Regions from separate parts of the Homo sapiens genome. Here region 1 is linked to region 2. The links are contacts of gene promoters, found by promoter capture Hi-C in blood cells and fetal thymus (Javierre and others, 2016). All regions are on one chromosome and are shown on one strand. Each heading gives the region's core, a stretch centred on a gene start or on the middle of the fragment in contact. The rest is flanking DNA. Distances are from core to core; before and after follow the strand shown. Region 1 overlaps PTPRB (protein tyrosine phosphatase receptor type B). Region 2 holds the start of BEST3 (bestrophin 3).

What was found. The method cuts DNA at HindIII sites, captures the fragments that hold promoters and counts their contacts. A CHiCAGO score of 5 or more calls a contact.
Region 1: a contact is called between a fragment that was not itself captured here and the fragment with the promoter of BEST3 in region 2, in 2 of 17 cell types (M2 macrophages and total CD8 T cells). The highest score is 5.9, in M2 macrophages.

The regions. Positions count from the first base shown.
Region 1 is chr12:70,576,593-70,582,824 of GRCh38, reverse strand. It overlaps PTPRB (protein tyrosine phosphatase receptor type B), which reads left to right. Exons shown (of 34, transcript NM_001109754.4): 10 at 1,523-1,789; 11 at 6,180-6,232. Among named protein-coding and RNA genes, the nearest start is that of PTPRB, 58 kb to the left of the region's middle. The HindIII fragment of the contact is 2,903 bases long and covers 1-2,802 here.
Region 2 is chr12:69,694,768-69,700,990 of GRCh38, reverse strand. BEST3 (bestrophin 3) reads left to right here and starts at 1,688. Exons shown (of 10, transcript NM_032735.3): 1 at 1,688-1,786; 2 at 3,178-3,344. The coding sequence starts at 3,193. The HindIII fragment of the contact is 3,631 bases long and covers 1-2,349 here.

The DNA.
Region 1 (6,232 bases), core at 102-2,601, 880 kb before region 2:
GTCGGTTTTTCATTTTGATGTCCAATTTATCAGTTTTTTTCTTTCATAAATCATGCTGTGGTGTCATATCTAAAAATATTTGCCTAAATCAAGGTCACAAAGGTTTTCTCCTAGAAGGTTATAGTTTTAGGTTTTAAATGTAGGTCTGCGACCCATTTTGAGTTAATTTTTATATATGATGTGAGATATAGGTGAAGGTTTTTTTCTTTGCATATAGACATCTGATAATTCTACCTCTATGTATTGAAAAGACTATCTTTTCTCCATGAAATTGCCTTTGAATCTCTAAAAAATCCATTGATAGCATATTCTTCTATCTCTGGGCTCTCAATTCTGTTCTATCAATCTATGTTTCTGTCTGCCCTTTGCCAGTATTATCCTGTCTTGATTACAAGATTTTTAGTGAAATCAGGTGGTGTTAGTCCTCTAACTTTATTCATCTTTTTCAAAATTGCTTTGGCCACTGTAGCTGTTTGCCTTTCATATAAAATTTAGAATTATAATTGAATCTTTAGAATTGAATCTGATCCATATACAGTAGGATTTTTTTAATGAACGCTTTTGTATCTTAATCCAGAAGTCAATGAACTTTGAGAAAGAGGGGTGCCAAGGTTCCAGTCCCTTTGATTATTGTAATTCAGGAAAGAGGCACAAAGAAGAATGTATGTTGACCAAGTGCCAACTTCAAGATCTGTGTATAAGATTTGTTAAATGATAAGTTGGAAGAAATAAATGTTGTTAATTAGGAAAAGGACACAGGCTTAGGGGTTAGATAAATCTAGCTTTCAGTTCCAGGTTGGCTATTTGTTAGCACTGTGATATAGGCTAAATTACTTACATTTTATGATCCTTGGTTTCCTTGTTAATAAATGGAATAATAAAGTCAACTTTATAGAGTTCTGAATGGGTGTCAAATAATGTAACCTTTATGAGACATATAGCTCATAACTGGCACATAGTAGGCCTTCAGTAGTTGTTGTTATTATCATTATTTTTTAATATATATATTATAATTTATATTATTATCACATGTTCATGTATAATAACAGCCCCTTTAAGAATGTGCCAGTATAGAACTAATCAGTTTGCTAGACCATAATCAACAGACTGAAGGGAATTCCCAATACCACCCCATAACAATCATTGGCTCAGGTAGATTAGATAGCTTTGAATTCTCATGGGGTAAGGACAGATAAAATCACATTAACTAAGCAGTTTTCAAAAATAGCAGCCTTCATTATCTAAAATTTAAAATCAAAACCACTTAATAAGCATGCATCATCTCATCTTTGGATCTTAAATAATTTTGATTCCCTATATAAGCAGCTTTTTCAAAGTACTAGAGCCTCTCTAGAGGAGTAGTTCTCCATATGCCACAGGAAATAGAACTGAGAGTCTATAGCAACAACACAAAAATTATTTTTAGTACTTTCAAGTCTGTCTCCATTTTTTGACTCATTTTTCTTACACTTTCTTAAGGTGACTAAGTGTCATTTGTTTTTTCTTCTGTCTACTGTTTTAGTGCCTGCCCAAGTGACTGACTTGCATGTGGCCAACCAAGGAATGACCAGTAGTCTGTTTACTAACTGGACCCAGGCACAAGGAGACGTAGAATTTTACCAAGTCTTACTGATCCATGAAAATGTGGTCATTAAAAATGAAAGCATCTCCAGTGAGACCAGCAGATACAGCTTCCACTCTCTCAAGTCCGGCAGCCTGTACTCCGTGGTGGTAACAACAGTGAGTGGAGGGATCTCTTCCCGACAAGTGGTTGTGGAGGGAAGAACAGGTAAGAAGTAGAGATATGTGTCTGTGACTTAACTAAGATCTGAGTACATGAGACCCCTAATCAGAATATTATAGAAATATCCTAAAATCAGACTCATCCCTGGCCTTTACAAAAGCTAAGTTTCACAAAAGCTAGCCATCCAGAAGGTATATGGAATGGAAATTGGGCGATGGGTGATGGCAAGAGAGAATAAATTCTGATTTTTTTTTTTTTTTTTGAGACGGAATTTCGCTCTGGTTGCTCAGGCTGGAGTGCGATGGCGTGATCTCGGCTCACCGCAACCTCCGCCTCCTGGGTTCAGCAATTCTCCTGCCTCAGTCTCCCGAGTAGCTGGGATTACAGGCGTGTGCCACCACGCCCTGCTAACTTTGTATTTTTAGTAGAGACAGGGTTTCTCCACGTTGGTCAGGCTGCTCTCGAACTCCTGACCTCAGGTGATCCACCCGCCTCGGCCTCCCAAAGTTCTGGGATTACAGGCGTGAGCCACCACTCCTGGCTGAATATTTTAACATCTCCAATGAACATGTAAGAACTCCTCACTCGATGTCTAGACTTATCCCCCTATTCAGTTGATTTCCTTTGAAATGTTTATGTTCCAGTTAAGGTAAACAATAATGGATAAAAAACAAAACAAACCTCCCAAAGAAAGCATCTTTCACTCTTATATATTCTTGGTTTGCAAGACATAAAAAGAAAATGATCTCCAATTAATATGGTTAGAGGTGGAGTTGATCTAATTTTCAGGTCTCATATATTTTCATAAGCAACGTTAAACAAGTGCTTAATATGCTATCTAAACAATTTTTCTTGACCTTAATAGCTCCCTGTTAGAAAGCTAAGTAAACAAATAAGTGTCATTATGGTCATGTATGTCAGGGAGCCATGGCACCGAGGAAGAAATTACATAGAATTTTCTATGTAATACAATGAAAGAACATAAAAAATTAATATATATGATATATAAAATGTATGTTCATTTCTTAGAAAAAAATTACATAAACCCAATAGAAGCTTTGATAATTATTAGTGGGACCTTGTCTACTTAATTTTATATAATTATTTTAAGTTGGATTTCAGGCTTCTCCTTCTGCATCCTCAACACTCAAATTCTGTTTATCAGCTGCAGGCATCATAGATGCATCTCTTTCCAAAATCATGAATCTCATCTACTTAATGAACCCAGAGGACATTAACTTCATTAACTCTCCCAGAAGAACAATGAAGTCACTGAGAAGATGTTTCATAGTCTTGGTAGAAATTCACTGGTGTATGCCCATTTCCCTCATTCTATGACAGCTGACATTGTCACTTGCATGTTTCTTTTTTTTTTTTTTTTTTTTGAGATGGAGTCTCATTTTGTCGCCAGGCTGGAGTGCAGTGGCACGATCTTGGCTCACTGCAACCTCCGACTCCCTGGTTCAAGCGATTCTCCTGTCTCAGTCTCCCGAGTAGCTGGGATTACAGGCACGCACCACCACGCCCAGCTAATTTTTGTACTTTTAGTAGAAACAGGGTTTCAGCTTGTTGGCCAGGATGGTCTCGATCTCCTGACCTCGTGATCTGCCTGCCTCGGCCTCCCAAAGGGCTGGGATCACAGGTGTGAGCCACTGCGCCCGGCCTGTCACCTGCATCTTTCTCCCTGATATTTTCTTTCCTTTCTTTTAATGGTTCTTGGCACCATCCATTGGTGTAGCATACTTGGGGGTAGGTAGCTGAAAAGCTTAGCATGGAAATCAGGAGGCCTAGGTTTTGGTCCTAGCTCTGCCATTAACTTATTTCCCTAAGCTTCTGTGTTTTAATCCACACACAATAATTCACTCCTACCCTGGGTGTCAGAATAGGGAAGGAGAAATAATAAAGCTGAGGAGAGGAGTGGAGGACGACCTTGCATTCATTTCCCAGTGATTTGCAGTTGTATCAGTCACATTAGACTGATTTAATTCATGCTTAGACACTGTATAATGTGGGTGTTCATGATTGGATGCCTCTATTGGTTGGGATACAGTCTCCTACTATCAGTGGCTCTTCTTTGCTGTAGGTCCTCAGAGCTCTCCCCATTTCTCCAGAGAATGGAGGTTGGGGAGGGGTACAACTCATCAGACTTGGGAGTAGGCATTTCACTTCCACCCACATTCCACTGGCCAGAACTCAGTTACATGGCTACATCTGACTGCCTGGGAGCCTGAGAAATGCAGTCTAGCTGTGTGTCAAGAGGAAAAGGAAATGGTCGGGGAACCATATTCTGCCACACAGGTTGATTCTCATTTTATATACCACAAGGATTGTCCAACTTATTGTGAGCTACTAAAATAGTCTAGTCTGTGCTATCTCTTGAAATAACTGTGTACTTTAAGTAAGTGGGACTTAAAATTATTTTTATTTTTTAATTTATATTTTTATTTATATTTTAATTAGAATAAAGGTACAAGTATTTGACCCATATTATATAATAGAAGCATTCAAAAAAGGGAAAAAGGGACAAGAAATTATTTGAAGAATGGTCATAAAGTTTTGAGGAGAGAATCAAATATGAATAAATTGAGCACGAGTTATTTTACTCAAACATATGAAGAGTGCACATTATCACGATAAAGGGGAAAATGGGAGACTCCTGTAAAGCACAATAATAGGGATTTTGAAAGGTGCCTCTTTTAGTAAATTTTGTACACAGTCAATTGTAAAGAATTCAGTGGGTAAGGCCTTGATAATCCTTATCATCTCCTCAAATTGCTGAAACATTAGTCAATATTGAAATAATTTTGAAAGGTATTCTTATATTTCACCTGTTTCCACTGAGTTGAAACATATAAATAAACCCTCCCAGCCCAGATAAGATGGCAGAATATTTAAAATTAAAGATATTAGATATACTTAACAAATCTAATTCTAATCTGGGAAAATGCTCATCCTAAAGCAAAAACAAATTTTGTATCTATTTTTTCTTAAACATGTGAATCATATTTCTGTGAAAACTTTTGATAATTGTGTCTTTTCTAATAAAATGTTAGTAGTTGCAAATATTTCCAGCAGTTTTTAAAAACAAGCATAATGAGTTGCTTTTGAGAGCAACTAAAGGATGTATAGATGGTTGGATGGCAGAAGAAAGGAAGGAAAGAAAGCAAAAAGGAAGAAAAGAAGGAAAGAAAAGGAAGGAAGAGATGTACCAATATATAAATCTTCTGGCTAAAAAGTTCAACTTTATATCTAGGAAATGTCCATATATGTGGATCAACATTACCAGAGTTGTTCACTAGAATGCAGTTTATAATTTTTAGTGATGGATAAGTGCTTTTAAGTATAAGGTATGCTTTGGGGCTTAATTCACAAAGTCCGAACATATTACATTAGAAGGATTCTCAGAAGTCATCTAGCCAAATCCTGTCCATTATAAGTGATGTACTGATATTGACAATCATATGAAACTGTTAAGTTAATCAACTAATGATTAAAACAGTAGTGTAGTTCATATATACTGTAATATTTTAACCCTATATTCATTTATGGCAGTACTATTTAATGGGCACCTATTTCTGATATGTGGTTCAACTTTTACTCAATACTGCAATTACTAATTTGCTGACTATACCTCCAACCAGAGAACTTCTTGAAGACATTCATGCGTTTTTCATTTTTGTATACCTGGCAAATAGTAGGTTCTCAGTAAACGTTTGTGACACTAATCCCCAATTCATATAAGCAAATGATTATAGTTGACATCAGAAAACCCATTATCGCCATAACAGTTCTCTCTGCCCTTGGTTGGTCCAGCTTCCAGACTTCTTACTTCCAAGATAGGTTTTTAGGCTTATTTCTTACCACTAGAGGGCAGGAAATGCCTTGCAAAGGGAAAACGGTCCCTCTGGTTGTGTTAGCTATTACTTCCCAGGAATGAATAACTTCATCACAAAAAAATTGAAGCTATCCCAGTTTAAGGTCTTTAGAAAAGCTATCGTATTCTTCCCCTTTCCACTCAAACATTTTTGCTTTATTGGTAAGTTTGGTTCAAGTTGATTCATTTAGATTGTTGAAATATTTGTTCCCTTTCTTACAGGGAACCTTCTAAAACATTGTATAAGGATGTCTCCACTTGAAATGCTTTACAAACAGCAACCCCATAAAAATGCAGTAGTGGCATCCTTGTATTTACGAGGCATCCCAAAGGCCTCCGGACATTTTTATTTTGATTAGTTTTCTGATGTAAGAACACTCAGCTTCTGGAAGCTGAGTGAAATCCTCACGCTTCCTTGACCTCTTATATAATCAGATTAGATCTCCTGAGTGAGTCCACGGTTTGTGCTGACTGCAATAGACGACTCAAACTTTTGACTGTGTCTTTCTTTTTGAATCCCCCTTCCCCCCCCCCCCCGCCCCCCACCTTTCAAAATCACAGTCCCTTCCAGTGTGAGTGGAGTAACGGTGAACAATTCCGGTCGTAATGACTAC
Region 2 (6,223 bases), core at 439-2,938:
AGGGAAGGAAGGAAGGAAGGAAGGAACGAAGGAAGGAACGAAGGAAGGAAGGAAGGAAGGAAGGAAGGAAGGAAGGAAGGAAGGAAGGAAGGAAGGAAGGAAAAGAAAAGAAAGAAACTATGCGCCGGGTGTGGTGGGCTCACACCTGTAATCCCAGCACTTTGAGAGGCCGAGGCAGGCATATCACCTGAGGTCGGGGGTTCAAGACCAGACTGACCAACATGGAGAAACCCTGTCTCTACTAAAAATACAAAATTAGCTGGGCATGGTGGCGCATGCCTGTAATCCCAGCTACTCAGGAGGCTGAGGCAGGAGAATCGCTTGAACCCGGGAGGCGGAGGTTGCAGTGCACCGTGATCGGCACCATTGCACTCCAGCCTGGGCAAGAAGAGCAAAGCTCCATCTCAAAAAAAAAAAGAAAAAATTTCCTAGCTGACCATGGAAGGATAACAAATGTGATGAATCTGGCCGGGTGCGTTGCCTCACGCCTGTAATCCCAGCATTTTGGAAGGCCGAGGCAGGCAGATCACTTGAGGTAAGGAGCTCGAGATCAGCCTGGCCAACATGGTGAAGCCTCATCTCTACCAAAAATATAAAAAATTAGCCGGTGTGATGGTGTGCACCTGTAATCCCAGCTACTTGGGAGGCTGAGGGAGGAAAATCGCTTGAACCCGGGAGGTGAGGTTGCAGTGAGCCAAGATCGTGCCACTGCACTCCAGCCTGGGCGACAGAGCGAGACTCCATCTTAAAAGAAAAAAAATGTGATGAATCCATGTGTTATTATTTCCCACTACACTAAGCCATCAATATATCATGATTCTCTATGTGTTCTTCTAACACACAAACACACACCACACACACACTAACACATAATCGTTGCTTTTAATTGAAGAACATTTTCAACACCTCTCAAGTGGCAAAAATCCTGTTTATATTCTTGTCTGCCCCAGTTTATGGCTTCATAAGAATTTTTTCATCTGTTTTTTGAGGCAGAGTCTCGCTCTGTCGCCCAGGCTGGAGTGCAGTGGTGTGATCTCAGCTCACTGCAACCTCCGCCTCCTGGGTTCCAGTGATTCTCCAGCCTTAACCTCCCAAGTAGGTGGGATTGCAGGAGCCCACCGCCAGACCCAGCTAATTTTTGTATTTTTAGTAGAGACAGCGTTTCACCATGTTGGCCAGGCTGGTCTCGAACTCCTGACCTCAGGTGATCTGCCTGCCTCAGCCTCCCAAAGTGCTAGGATTACAGGTGTGGGCCACCGCGTTCCAGCCCAGTTTTAAGAATTTAATCTTCATTTCAAGCACAAAAAGACTTTTTTTTTTTTTTTTTGGCTGGTGGGGCCTCTTTTTTGAACTCTTTAGGGCCAAATCAACCTTTCTTCCTTGATCCCAGGGTGGAGTCAAATGAATCTAACAGACAAACGGCCCAACATCCTTCATGTCACTGCCAACTTCTCATTCAAAGGGGTACTTGGGGTGGCAGGTGGAGTTATAATTATAGCTTAGAAAAAAGCAGCATCAGCAGCTGTTGCTTCTGTTTGTTCCCAGCTATAACTGTCATCAGTGGCTAAACTGGCATAAACAGGCCTCTACAAGTGGAAAAACATTTAACCCCTGTTCTTGTCACACTCTGGGTCCTCTCAGTGGCCAGAGAACAGAAAGAAAATCTGACTGTGCACGAGCGAAGGGTGACACCGGGCGTGCAGCACCGACCTGAAGGCACCTCTTCGGGGGAGCCCGAAATTTGAAGATTCTCTTTCCTGTCGGAGACTACAAACCAAATAAATAGGTTAGTGCCCAGAGTAAACCTATGCATTTTAATTCTGACCTCTACTTGCTGTGATTTTCATTTTCCTGGCAGAGCTTGAAAAGAAGAGTGAACTACTAAATGAAAGAAAGGAAAGTTAATTAAGGACTGTTATTTAAAACTACCGGGAGTCCATGAGAACAAATTATGAAATGGGTTTAATTTATTATGCTCCTCTCCCAATTTTGGCTGTATTCGCACTAGGCAAATAGACAAGGTAAAGATGGAAAAATAAAACCGGTTTTGTGGCATGAGTCCCATCCTTTTGTAATGCCACTTACTTGTGCCAAAAGGCCCTACCTTCTTTATTAAAATCAGTAATGTTGAAAGCTAAGTTTGTGATTTTAGAAAATGCTGTAAACGTAGCTCCAGAGTTTCATTTCCTTAGGGAAAATAGGCAAATCAGAGTTGAATTGTTTTTCCAGCAATGAGTAAAGATAGAAAATTTTCTTGTTTATGATAAAATGTGTGGTGTAGGCTACTTTACAAAAGAAATCTGCTACAGAATTTATTTTTTGTGTCTAGTACAATTCTATCTAAAAGCTTCATGATTTCAGTCTAAGTAGCTCTATAAGACTCTCCTCATAGATCCTTTTGAGAAAAGTAAGATTTTAAATAAATCTCATTTTATTTGCATATGTTCTATCTTAGCCAGAAATTGAGCAAGATTTTCAAAGATTAGCTTTGCGCTGTCTGTTTCAAAACCTGAATATTTAATGTCTTGGTGAAAAGTGGTGGAATTCCAAAGAACTCACCAAAAACAAGGCTTTTGGGCCCAGTGCTCATCCTAACCACATTCATGAAATGGACTCAAGTAGAAAGAGTTGTAAATAATGACCTCATTTTGTTCAACTCCAAAGAGAATGTGAACCATCCCTAAGCATTTATGTACAACTTGTCATGGGGAAACTGCACCATTCTTATTTATCACTATGACCCAACTTTTTGGCTGACTTTTGAAATGCAATGAGTGCTAACGATGCATTTGGACCTCCACTAGAGAGACATCTACATGCAATCAAACCCACCAAAAGTGCCCCATCAATTAAATTCTCACGAGGGCCTTGTTTGTCTCATTTGTTCATTCAAATATATATTGGCCAATGGCTATATAATCTAAAAATAATATTTAACAGTTAAGGCAAGTTTAAGATGTCTAATATTACTCTTCCCAGAGACTGCTTTCCTCCTGCTTTCTGCTAAACTGAGATAATGGTTATCTGAAAGTTCCGAATTATAGAAACTAAGAAAGACAAAACAGAGATATGGCTGACTAGTTGCTGGCTTGAATTTCCTTGATATACAGACATACAGATTTATGCCCTATTTTAAACATTGCTTTTTACTTGTGTTTTGTCTTCTTGCTCTTCTAGAAAAAACTATCCAAGATGACTGTCACTTACTCCAGTAAAGTAGCAAATGCAACTTTTTTTGGATTTCATAGGTTACTCCTCAAGTGGAGAGGCAGCATCTACAAACTACTGTACAGGGAATTTATTGTTTTTGCTGTTCTTTATACAGCAATAAGTTTGGTATACAGGTACTTTTCTTTACATGTCTCCTTAAATGGCCATCAGATATTGTGTAAGATACAGTCTCAAAAATCTGAACCTTTTGATTGCCACTGACTTCGCATTATGGAACTCCTTTTTTGCGTGAGCCTCTCATTTGTCTTCTTCCCCTCAGGACAGATTTTAATCCACCACTAACCATTGTTAGGTTGTAAAATAGACCCTCACTGTTAAGATTCAGGTGGCCTTCATTCCAGCCCCAGTTGTGCCTCGAGACTGTTGCAATAGGCACAAAATGGAAGGATTATCCTTAGATCTTTACTGTGTAAAGACTTTTGAATGGGCAAAGTCCACAGACAATAATTATTTGTGCTTCTGTCAACTTGTCATTCATAGTTGATGATTTGACAGCTTGTAGCAACTACCTATATAATCAACATGTTCATGATTGGTGTATGTCAGGGAAAAGCTTTCCTTCTTTTGGCCTGGAATGAAAATATCTTATCCAGGATGATGCCTGCCACACTTAACAGTACCTCAACTAAAGCAAAGGCCTGTAGAATAATTTATTTTCTTTCCGTTTTCTGAGTTGAGGGTATATTATGTTCACAAAAGGAGGTGCTTATTCTTTATAACATTACAACATATGCCTGTCAGATTGACAGGAAATTTGAGCAATATCAAGTCCAAGAAATATTTTTATGATGAAAAGTTATAGTCTTAATAAAATTTCATCAGTATGATAAAAGGGAAGACTTATGAGATTTTAAAGCTTTTTTTATTAAAATTGAATGCATAAATTTCTTCTCTGGAGGAAGCTAAAATTTAAAACAGGAAAGCTAAAGGTTTTTGAGGCTGTATTTCCATTTTTTCTATGTTCATAGTTTGTTATTTTTCTTCTGCATACAGATAAACAAATTTGTGTTTCATTGCTCTCACATTCTTCCTTGCAGCAACAGGATCTCCTTTGGAAAAGAGGGATATTAATGTAGTTGACTGATAATTATTAAAAGTAAAATAGGTACAGCTATTTTTCCACATGTCAAAACAACCCTTCCAAGCAAGTGTATGCATTGGTATATATCTTGACAAAATATTTTTAGAGGGAAAGTCCTATTAACAACCTCTAATAATTTTTCAGACATGTCATATAATATGATATTATTTTGGCAATTTAGGTAGGTATCACCTAAGCCTTCAGAATATGAAATGGTAAAAGATACAATGGTGTTTCGTGATAATTATCTCATTAGTTCATTTTTACTAATGTGAATTTATTGCTGCTACTTCTGCTAAGAATAGAACAGAATAGCCCTTAGTACAGTTGCAATGTAGCTAGAAATGTTCCTTGGGGCCTCAACTTTTGTTCCAATATCATACTTATACCCCACAACATTTTATGCATATATTTCTTCTAAAGCAGAGGGCTTACATTTATAACAAAAATTATCAGTTCAAGTCATCCTTAAATTTTTAAAGTTCAATTGTAATACCTTATTAAAATAGATCTTTCTATCTTAATCAAAGGTATACCAAGAACTATAGGATGAGTTTGTCAAGAAAATCAAACACATCTATAGAAAAATATAGATGTAGTTTCATTCTCTAAGTCTTTATTAGCTCTATTATAGGTACATAATTATTCCTAACAAAAATTATAAGGAGGAACCAGATTCATTAATTTGATTACATTTATTTCTATTTTTGGAGGAATTTGACAAAATAATTTCTGAAATACTTTCTAGCTATTAAAATTTCTACATCTATTAGCCAAATATTTTTTCTTTGGCCAACTATTAATATGAACCATTTTATTATTAACTAAGTATGAGGCAATTTGTTAAGTGGTTATATATATGTATACATATATTATTTAATCTTTACAATGCCTCTTATATATAGATATTTTTATCCCCACTTACAGATGAGAAAACTGAGACTCAGAGAGTTCAAAAATATGCTCAAAGTCCAAATTCATAAGTGTCAGACTTGGAATTAAAATCTGGCTTTGTCTGACCTTAAAAAAGGTCCATGCTTTCCACATTTAAATCCTCTTTGACCATGTCTATTTGAACATCAGAAACCATTCTGGCTGTAATTGTCATCAGCATAACCCTGATAGACCTCTGCAACAATCTGGTACCTCTCCTGTCAGCTTTCCCTGACTTCAGTAATTCTAACACCTCTTCCAAAGCTGGGGCAGGAACTCCAAGCTCACCCTGTACCCCACACACCTTCTTTGTCAGGACCAGCTCCCAACAGCTCTCTATCTGCAATCTAATTGGTTGCTTACTGTTATCTCATTATCCCTTTGCTTCCTTTATCAAAGTTCTACTGACCCAAATGAGCCTTTGATGCTTGTTATAATGGATCTTTCCTTGAGTTCCTTCCTCCTTTGGAACAGCTACACTCGTCGATTTATTCAAATTCATCTGTTTGGCTTTCCTTCCTGTATTTTGGTCATTATTATTAGTTTGCCTTAAAACATTTCTCCAGACTCTGAATCTCTTCCCTATAATGTAAATATCAATAATAGTCTCATTAAATGCACTTATGTTTAACAATACCAGAAAATGGGGTTTGGGCAGGTTGGGTTAGATCTATAATATAAATTTTGAGAGAGTGACTAAATTTAATAATGAAAGTTTTCATTTCTCATTGTTAAATTTGTTTTAGACTCCAAACAATTCTGGGCTTTAAAATGAACAGTTATAATATCCCTTGAAGGGATATTATACACATGATAATCAAGAATGTGCTAAGTTGCATATTCAGGAGAAATATCAAGGTGTCAAATTCAGTGTTATTATTTAACAATTACTTAATAATGCTAATTCATACTTAATCAATAATACACTCTTTTTAAGGTATTCCTGATGAATAATTGAAAACTGAACTATTTTGTAAC